2 separate regions of the Homo sapiens genome follow, and region 2 is linked to region 1. The links are contacts of gene promoters, found by promoter capture Hi-C in human tissues and cell types (Jung and others, 2019). All regions are on one chromosome and are shown on one strand. Each heading gives the region's core, a stretch centred on a gene start or on the middle of the fragment in contact. The rest is flanking DNA. Distances are from core to core; before and after follow the strand shown.

Region 1 (4,904 bases), core at 346-2,845:
ATAATGGCTAGGAATATGTAACATTGAAGAAATGTTTCAGAAACTACAGAATCAAAGAGGTTTAAAGAATAAATTTCATATCTCTCTTCCATGTTATTTTATTAGGCAAATAAAAACTACAGGAGACAATTTAACATAAAATACAAATAAATATCTGGGGGTTGTCATCTTAGAGAACTCCCTACTATAAAAAGCAGAAACAACTCAATTTACTTTATATTTCCAGATAGAAAGGTTGGAAAAAGTTTGGAGCCTTATGTGAGATCAAACTTTGGATCTATCGGAAATAAAAGGAAATCATAAATGACTGAGAAATATTTTTAAAGGAAGAAATTATAGGACAAAAAAAGAAATTCATCTTAAACATGTGATCAAGTTACTCTGTGTGACCTTTGAAATTGAAGATTTGGCAATTAAAATTTTAAAGTTCTTCCTCTTATTACCTACCTCTTGAATACAAAGTGTCCGAAACTGCCTAATGGAAAACAGATTTCTCTACGCAGCCTTCCTTGCCGTTCGGGTTGAATGAATTCAACTGGAGATATTGGTTATGACTTTTTTTATTCTTAGTTTCTCTTTGAAAGATAAGCATTGAATAATTCCTGAAAATGGTAAATACTTGCGAAGAGAAAGGTCTTGCTTTATGAATTTAATACGTAGTGGCATTCTTTAAAATTCAGTGTAATTTATGCAGCGAAATGGAAAACTATCAAAGTGGAGGCAATCCAAGGAAAACCTTAGAAAATGATAAACGCGTAAAAAAACGATACGCAACCATCAGAAGGTTCTCTCCTAATGTCTCACTTCGCTCAACAAACTATGGTGAAAAGACAGGGCGGAGGAGAAGGGGCGCTTAAAACAAAAGACTTCCTTTCCCACTCCCTTTTCCTCTGTTTCTTTTGCCAGAGCTTGTTGCAAACTCTTGGAAACATTGTTTAAACATAATACACTTGGTTACTTTATTCTTTCAGGGATTGTGGTGGGTGGTACCTAAAACTGACGGCTCTTGGAGTAACAGAAAAAGAGAAGTAGAAACTTTTCAAAAAGGCAAAAAACAAAGTTACCCAGCCCGCGGAGGTTCTAACAACAAAAAAGTAAAACACACTTTACTTAAAGGCACAGCTCATTTCACTGTCCGGGCTCCGTGCTTGGTAGCTGAGAGAAGGCTTGCTTCGCCTCTGGTTTCTAAAAGATCGCGCGGAGTACAGCTATAGAAAAGAGTGTAAGTTGGGAGCGTTATTCTCGGATTTATTCTGCTACGCGAAAGCTGCGGTTGCTAAAAGCAGAGCGTCCAAAGCAGCACACACCTCGGCTACCATCCTCGTTCTCCTCTGAACATCCAGCGCGAGCTCAGAACCTGGAGGGAATCCTGGACCAGCAACCTGACTCCGCTCGGCACCGATTGGCTCCTGCCTCGGACCCCGCCCCCGTGGCCGGGGCGGCCATTTCGCCGGGACCCGCCCCTTGGCCCTGGGAATCGCCTCCTGGCAGGCCGGCTGTGCCTGCCACTCAGCCCGAGTGGCGGAGGCTCTCAGCTCGGAGCCCCGCCCCCTCCCCCCCTAATTGATATTATTGGAGTGTGGAGCAAGCGGCCGGTCTGCAGTCGGAGACTTGCAGGCAGCAAACACGGTGCGAGCGAACAGGAGTGGGGGGGAAATTAAAAAAAGCTAAACGTGGAGCAGCCGATCGGGGACCGAGAAGGGGAATCGATGCAAGGAGCACAATAAAACAAAAGCTACTTCGGAACAAACAGCATTTAAAAATCCACGACTCAAGATAACTGAAACCTAAAATAAAACCTGCTCATGCACCATGGTTTTTCAAACTCGGTACCCTTCATGGATTATTTTATGCTACATCTGGCTGCTCCGCTTTGCACACACAGGGGAGGCGCAGGCTGCGAAGGAAGGTAAGGTGATGGGAAAGCAAAGTTTGTTCTGACTTATTTATTTAGATGTCTACCTGCACAAGCCAGCTCGTCCGCGGCGCTGCCGGCCGCGCCTCCGGCGCCGGGCGACCCTCCCCCGCCGGCTCCCCGCCCCCTCACCGCTGAGGCCGCTCCTGGCGGACCAGCGAGCGCGAACCAGGGCTGTTCCGAGCCGCCTACAGCCCTGTGCCCGGAGCCGTCCATCCGACGGGTGCGGGATTTCTGGCGCGGGCAGTCTGGAGGGCGTGAGCAGCAACGGGGGTGGGGTGGGGTTGGAGGAACTGCCGGCGAGCTTATTTCTTAGTACCTCAGGCGGGTCACATCTCTCTCTAGCTCGGTCTTCCTTGTCTCCTTATTCGCCTTCTGTGGGAGCTGCGGCCAGAGTTGGGTTGGAGACTGGGAAATGCAGCCCCTACCGTCTCCGCCAGCCCGCCGGCGAGTGGCGGGAGCCCGGAGCCTTCCCAGAGGGACCGAGACTTCGATGAGCTCGGAAAGCTCGGGTTACTAATGAAGTGCTCACTGCGTCGGAGGCGGCGGCGCGGTCCTGCGGTTGGCGCTCGGCCGCCAGCACGGAACAATAACGCCGCGGAGGTGAAGCGCGGCGTGCGGCGCGCGACCCGAGGGCCGGGGATGTCTCCATTCAGCGCGCGCTGCGCGTCGGGCCCAGCGGTCATGGGGGCAGCGGCAGCCCAGCGGGCTTGGTCGGGCCGTGGAGGCAGGGGGCGGGCTGGAGCTGTGCAATTTGTAAGGATGCCGCCTGGGCGACTCAAAGTCCCCAATTATTTGCCCCATAGTGCAGCAATTGAGGAATCCGAGTGCCCAATCCTTGCCAAAGACCTGAACCCTGAGGGTTGGTTCTGGTAGGAGAAGGCAGGTTTTATTTGGCAAGCTGTTACAGATACGCCTGTATATGGTTATGTTTTCCTTCTTTGAACCTTTGACAGAAGGTAAAATACCTTTCGGTGCCTGTAGTTGGAGCTGGGGAAAAATAAACCCTGTCAATGGAAGTCTCTTGCTTTTGAGCAGTGTCACAATCCCATCCCCAACCCCCCTCATCCCGTCGCCCCCCTGGTCTTTCAGGCTGTGTATCTAAGTTTCATTTTTCGATCTGTTAAAAGCAGAAGAGAAATAATTACTTATTCCTGATGTGTAGAGGGAGAGGAATCTGTTATGAAATTTAGGTCATGGTGGTTATCGGGCGGGGTGTTGAGGGGACTTACATATAGGTCCTTGATTCATCTATTTCTGAAAACTTAGTGCACCTTTTCTTTATTCTCATCGTGCACTCCTCTTAGTTCGCTCAAGCCCCCCTCAAACCCGGCGCCAAATTCTAGTCCTTCTTTCAGCCTGACCTTCTGACCCCACTTTCCACATCTGCAACCTGTATAGATGCTGAACCCATTCAGAGAACCCCGTGCCTCCAAGCTGGCGGTTACGCGTTTGCAGAAGGACGGACATCTGCTAGAAACGCACGCTCATCCCCTCCAAAACCACATTTCTACTCCCCTGACGTTAGCGATCAGAAACCTTCAGCCCTGGCATACTGTGATTCCTCTGGAATAGCGGACCAGAGGAAAAGTTTGCACCGCCGCGGCGAAACCCCGCGCGCGAACACACGCAGACTCGGGCTGGAGTTTGGGCTATAAATAACTGCATCACTAGGGGGAGAGGTTCCTGCAGCCAGAATGTCTAGTTCTCTTTGCTCTTCTGGGTGCAAGCTACGTGAAGAGGATTCTGATTCTAAGAGCCTGAATTCTTTAGATGCAGAAGTGTGATGTATAAAAGGCGCGGGGGTGATGGGAGGGAGGGTGGTGATCTGTGGCTGGCGGGCGGCGAGTGCGCCCGGCTTCTAGGCGGCGACGCCTCTAGGGCGCAGCGGCGACCAAGAGCTGGCGTTCTAGGAGTTCACAAGCCCCGAGGCGGCCCGCAGTACCCAAGGGCTAGCGCTGGGAACCGCTTGAAGCAGGTGCCGGGCCTCCTGGGGCATTTGGGGGTGGCTAGAGGAAGATAAGAAACCCCCTTCCCTCACTTTCCTTGTGCACGTTCTCTCGGGTTGGTCAGTTATCATCGCTACAGGGAGCGCGTGTCAGAGTCTGACGCTTGAAGGCAAAGTGCAGCTGCTTACTTTTTCTCTCCGTAAATGCCGCCGCCGCCGCCGCCTCTTCCTCAGAGGAGATGCTTCCCGAAAGCCACTCTCCTCTTCCCGAAAGCCACTCTCCTCTTCCCGACTCCTTCTCGAGCGAGGGCGCCACCGGCTCCCTGGAGTGCCCAGGTCTGGCAGAGGCGTAATGGATGCTTGGCGCGGCTGGCGCGCCCGTCTGGCAGCCCCCGCCCCGCCCCTCCGACGGCCCCGCCCCAGCCCCGGGACGCCAGCCTTTGCCCGCGCGGTCGTTGCCTGGGTCTGTCAGGGCGCGCCCCCAGTCTAGCCCCTCTCCCATCACCTGTTGGCCCACAGGACTCCGGGGCGCGGAGCCCTGGAGTCCTAGGCCTGGCCCCCAGCGTCCGGGTGAGCCGAGGGACTGCGCCTCCGCGGGCGCAAAGGGAGGTCGGCACTCTGCTCCGAGCGGGAAGGGATACGCGCTCTTTTGAGGGTTTAACCAGAGAGCGGACCGAGCAGAAGAGAGACGCACGGATCACTTGAGAGCGGCTTCCGATTAAACGTTCTCGGGCCGGGTTCTGTTTTGTTTTAATTTGTTAGTTTGTTTCTCTCTTAACTTGGCCATCACTGCTGTCTGCTTAGGTCCCTTGCTTCCACCCCCAGGCTGAGCTGAGGGGTAGCAGAATGGCAATAAACAGTAATCTCGCAATGTTTATTTCACTCTCAGAAATGACCCAAGAAGGTCACCTGCATTTAAAATCCTGTTGTCTATATTCAGCACACAAGAAAAATAAAATAAAAATTAAGAAAGCATCTCAAAAAGAGTAGAGTACCTGACCACCCACCTTGTTTCCCTGTGCTTCATGTCTGTTGTTGAGG
Region 2 (4,975 bases), core at 2,209-4,708, 130 kb after region 1:
AGGAAAGTCACTTTAAGAAAAGAACAGTCAGAATGATATCTCAACTTGGTGTGAAAAGCAGCTGGGCAGAGCCAAGCAACAGAAAAGAGTATAAGGTGCACAAAATGAGGGAAGATTTATGCATGGTGAGGCTGGAAAAATACATGGGGCTCAGACAGTAAGTCATGGTAATGATTTTGTTTCTTATTCTAAAAGTCATGCAAAATTAAGTATTTTAAACAGTTTTTATTAAGTATAATTTGCATATGATAAAATTCACCCAGTTCAAATGTATAATTCAGTGATTTTAATAAATGTACTGAGCTGTGCAAGCATCACCACAATCCAGTATTAGAACATTTCCATAACCCCATAAGATCCCTTCTGCCCATTTACATGTATTCCCATTCTCACCCCTAGACCTAGGCAACCACGAAACTGCTTTGTGTCTAAAATTGTCTGTTCTAGACATGTCATATAAGCAGGATCATACAATGTCGTCTGGCTTCTTTCACCTAGCCTAATTTTTTGAGGTACTTCTATGTTGTACTGTACAGCCTATCCATCCATTTGTATTGAGCACTTCTATTTCTTTGTATGTATTCTACCTTATTTGTTTGCTAGTTTATGAACCTTTATGTTGTTTCCACTTTTGGGCTATATGAATAATATTGCTGTGAACATTCACATTTAAATATTTGTGTGGACCTGTGTTTTCATTTCTTGCGGGTAGATAACTAAGAGTGGAATTACTAGGTCATATGGTAACTTTATATTTAACTCTTTAAAAAAAACTGCTTTTACATAGTGGCTGCACCACTTTGCATTTCTACCAACAACGTATAAAGAATTCTATTTTCAAATTCTTGCCAACACATGTTATTATCTAGATTTTTTAAAATTATAGTCATTCTAGTTGGGTGTCAAGTGATATCTTACTGTAGGTTTAATCTGTATTTTCCTAATAACTAATAATGATGAACATCTTTTCATATGGCCTTGAAGAAATTTGACTCTTGCTTGAGGAGAAGGGGTTTGCAAAGGAAACAAAGTGGTAGCTAAATAAGGAGAACACATGGACACACAGAGGGAACAACACATACTGGGGCATTTTGGAGGTTGGAGGGTGGAAGGAGGGAGAGGATCAGGAAAAATAACTAATGGGTACTAGGCTTAATATCTTGGTGATGAAATAATCTGTACAACAAACCCCCATGACACGAGTTTACCTATATAACATACCTGCACAGGTACCCTTGAACTAAAAATAAAAGTTAAAAAAAAAAAAAGAATCAACCAGACAGGAGAAAAACTAGAAGAGAATGTGCCACAAAAGCCAAGGAGAAAAGGACAGAGAGATTAAAAATATTAATGCTACTGAGAGTCCAAGAAAAGTAGGGATTGAGAAAAGCACTTCAGTGTGAGTAACCTTATCAATAACTCATTTAATGGAATGAGGTGGACCGAAGCCAGACTAAAGAAGGTTGAAACATGAAAGGAGTTGAGAAATGGAGAAAAAGAATATGGACAATTTTTTTCATATTTGGCTATACAGTGAAGAAAAGAGATTCCCCAGCAGGTGGAAAGAGTTATAGGCTTGAGAAACAATTTTATTTTCATGGGAGAGTTTACACAAAATCTTTCAGGAAGAATCCAATAGATAGGAAGACACTGGCTTATATAAAAGAGTGAAGGTAATTTGTAGTGTCACACCATTATTCGTTTATTTAGCATATACTAAGTGCCAAAAATATGCATGGTGGAGTATTCCTTGTTAGTACTGTGAATCAATTTGAGACTTTTTCAAATAAATATTTCTCAATTATAAAACAGAGAAATTAAATGTTATTGAAAGTCTTTTAAAAAGTACTATATTCATGCTAGTTAACATATTATATATGCCATCTAGTAAATGACTTCTGTCACTGGAAATATGTTTAAATCACCGGATGTGACTGTTTCAGACGCAACCTTTGCCCTGTTCAGGGTCTCCACAGCTGTCTGGTCCTGGAGGGAAAAGCTTCACCTGAAAACTCCCAGATACAAGCAAAAAATATTTTTCTCACCTGCTACCTTTTAAACCTGACAAATGAAGGTTTAATGCTATCATATATAGTCTTCCAAGCCCCAGTTTAAAAACATTATTTTTATCCATGATCTGGTGCCTTCACTTAGGAAATCTGAATCAATTCCTTTGGTTTCTTCTGTTCTATATTCAGAGAAGAAATTAACTGGGGAGCAGGGAGAATCAAGTTAAGTGTGTGATCTCCCTCTCCTCTGCTATTGGGATGATGAAGGTGACAGACACTGCTAGTTTTCTCCCTAATATCTTCTTTCTTCTTATTTACCATATTTTTTAGTGCAGCAGTACAGCCAGATTACATTTTAAAAATCCATTTCCCAGCCTAGGGAATAAGATGCAAACAGAAGATTTCCATAGCTTACTGGAAACTTTGGCTTTCCTAATTCAGGTGCTGAGCATTCGCATTGCTTATTCCTTCTCCATGCCGCAATATAGATGTCATAGGTGTGGTAGCAGCAACAGCCAAGAGGGAAAGGCCATGAGAATCATCTGTATAGCCTTGAACAACTGAATAAAACATAGATGCCCATCTGTAGAATACATTTGTGTGGGGGTGTGTGTGTAGGGTGTGTGTGTGTGTGTGTGTAAGGAAAAACAACAACAATCAAATTACTAGTTTTTTGAGTTTTCTTACTTGAAGCCAAACAGACTGTAACTCAGAGAAAGGCAAACTTTTTCTGAAAAGGGCCAGGTAATAAATATTTCACATCCTGCAGGCCATGTTTTCTGTGTTAGAATTCCCCAGCACTCACATTTTGGCACAGAAGCAGCCAGAGGGAATATGTAAAAAAGGGTGCCGCTGTGTTCCAATGAAACCTTATTTACAAAAACAAGTGGCTAGCCAGATATGGCCCATGGGCCACAGACCCCAGCTCTAACTGAAAAAAGATGAAAGTCAGTACATCATCTACTTTATATTTATATCCTAGTTAGTTTTTGAGTTCGTTATTTCTTGCTGGCTGGAGATTATTTAGGAATAAAGCCGGAACTTCATATGTGGCAAGAGAAGGAGACAGGCAGACAACAAGCAAAAGTTTCTGTCCTTGGCTAAGAGATATCAGAATATGGGGAGAATTCAGGGAGATCTTCATTCCTGTAATTGAAGCAACTGCATCAGTAGAAATAGCAAACACATTTTATTCTTTGTCTTGGTTTTTCTCTTTTGCATAGTTAATAATATTAAAACAGAATTGTTTTCGATTTCTTATCTGTGCAAATTTACAATAGTTTAAGAACATTCTGGGTCAAATACATGTTTGTTGGCTGGCCTAGCAATCTGCTATTTCTGATATTACTTCTGTGTTAACTCCAAATTACAAACAATGAAATTACAAATTAACTTTTGGAGCCAAACTTATTCATAAAATGGTAACTCTCACTCTGTATAACTATTCATTATAAGCCAGATCTTCCCAGTGCAGTGATTCTTGGGTATTAATTAGCTGCGTTAATTTTCTCTTGGTACTAAAATATTATATAGTAAATTAATGCTGCTTTGTAAAACAACAACTTTAAAATAGAAGTTGCAAAGCTAATCAAAATGTATTTAGCAGAAAATATTAAACTTAAGTGCTCAGTTTGTAACAGATTCTTGCAATAAAGTGGTAAATCTTGACTAATATTGAGAACTTATTAAGCAATATGAATTTCTTAAGTTTATGCACTTTTGAGATACAATGTATTCAGAGTACCTGGAGCAATTGAAATGATAAGTTTTTTAACTGTACTTTTTTTTAATTATACTTTAAGTTCTGGGATACATGTGCAGAATGTGCAGGTTTGTTACATAGGTATACACACGCCATGGTGGTTTGCTGCACCCATCAACCCATCATCTACATTACGTATTTCTCCTAATGCTATCCCTCCCCTAGCCCCCCACCCCCCAACAGGCCCTGGTGTGTGATGTTCCCCTCCCTGTGTCCATGTGTTCTCATTGTTCAACTCCCACTTACGAGTGAGAACATGAGGTGTTTGGGTTTCTGTTCTTGTGTTAGTTTTCTGAGAATGATGGTTTCCAGTGTCATCCATGTCCCTGCAAAGGACATGAACCTATCCTTTTTTATGGCTTCATAGTATTCCATTGTGTATATTTAGCACATTTTCTTTATCCAGTCTGTCATTGATGTTGATTGGCATTTGGGTTGGTTCCATGACTTTGCTACTGTGGACAGTGCCACAATAAACATATGTGTGCATATATCTTTATAAATGAGGTAGTATTAATGAGTCTCAAGCCACATTCATTTTCCTTCCTTTTCACTTCCTTCTCCCCCTGCTGCTGCTGATCTTTCTTATTCTTTTCTTTCTCCTTTCTTTCCTGTTTCTTTTCTTCTTCCCCTTGTAGGATAATCCACTTTACAGATCATCACTCTGAGGAACACCAGAATGATGATTTTGAAAAAAAAAAATAAATGAGCAAAGCCACTAACGAGGAAGAATTCTGCAAAAACTAACATTGTTAAATCATGTTTAAGAAAGTCAATTTATGTTTGATATATATGGGTTTTAGGCCTGGAAAACATACAGTCAAAAAATATAGCAGGAAAAAAGGAGAGAAATAAAATAAAAAGATAGAATAAAATAGAAACAACTATGGTACTGATAGCAGCCAAAATATAATGAAATTGATCATTCTCTTCAACCATTATTGAGAACTTTGGGATGGAGTAAATTAATGGTATAATATGGAACTATCAAGCATTTTTGCTGTATGAATTATGTTTTGTATTTTATCAGCTTAAATGAATATCACTTTAAGAATAGGCATACCTTCAATTATATTTTATGTAATATAGTGATTTCCAAAACTTTAAATTGTATTTATAGTAATTAGTAGATGCATATTATATATCTTTATTTTCCTTGATCCATATGCACATAAACATGTGAAGCAAAGGTTCTGTGAAACTA

The links. Contacts are between HindIII fragments. The study calls those that stand out against the background at their distance.
Region 2: a fragment that was not itself captured here is called in contact with the fragment with the promoter of EPHA7 in region 1 in 1 of the 25 tissues and cell types used here (thymus).

Annotation. Positions count from the first base shown.
Region 1 is chr6:93,416,250-93,421,153 of GRCh38, reverse strand. It overlaps EPHA7 (EPH receptor A7), which reads left to right and starts at 1,595. Exons shown (of 17, transcript NM_004440.4): 1 at 1,595-1,909. The coding sequence starts at 1,813. RefSeq lists a silencer at 1,348-1,547. The HindIII fragment of the contact is 11,378 bases long and covers 1-4,904 here.
Region 2 is chr6:93,283,819-93,288,793 of GRCh38, reverse strand. All of the region lies in intron 5 of EPHA7 (EPH receptor A7), which reads left to right. Among named protein-coding and RNA genes, the nearest start is that of EPHA7, 130 kb to the left of the region's middle. The HindIII fragment of the contact is 5,210 bases long and covers 854-4,975 here.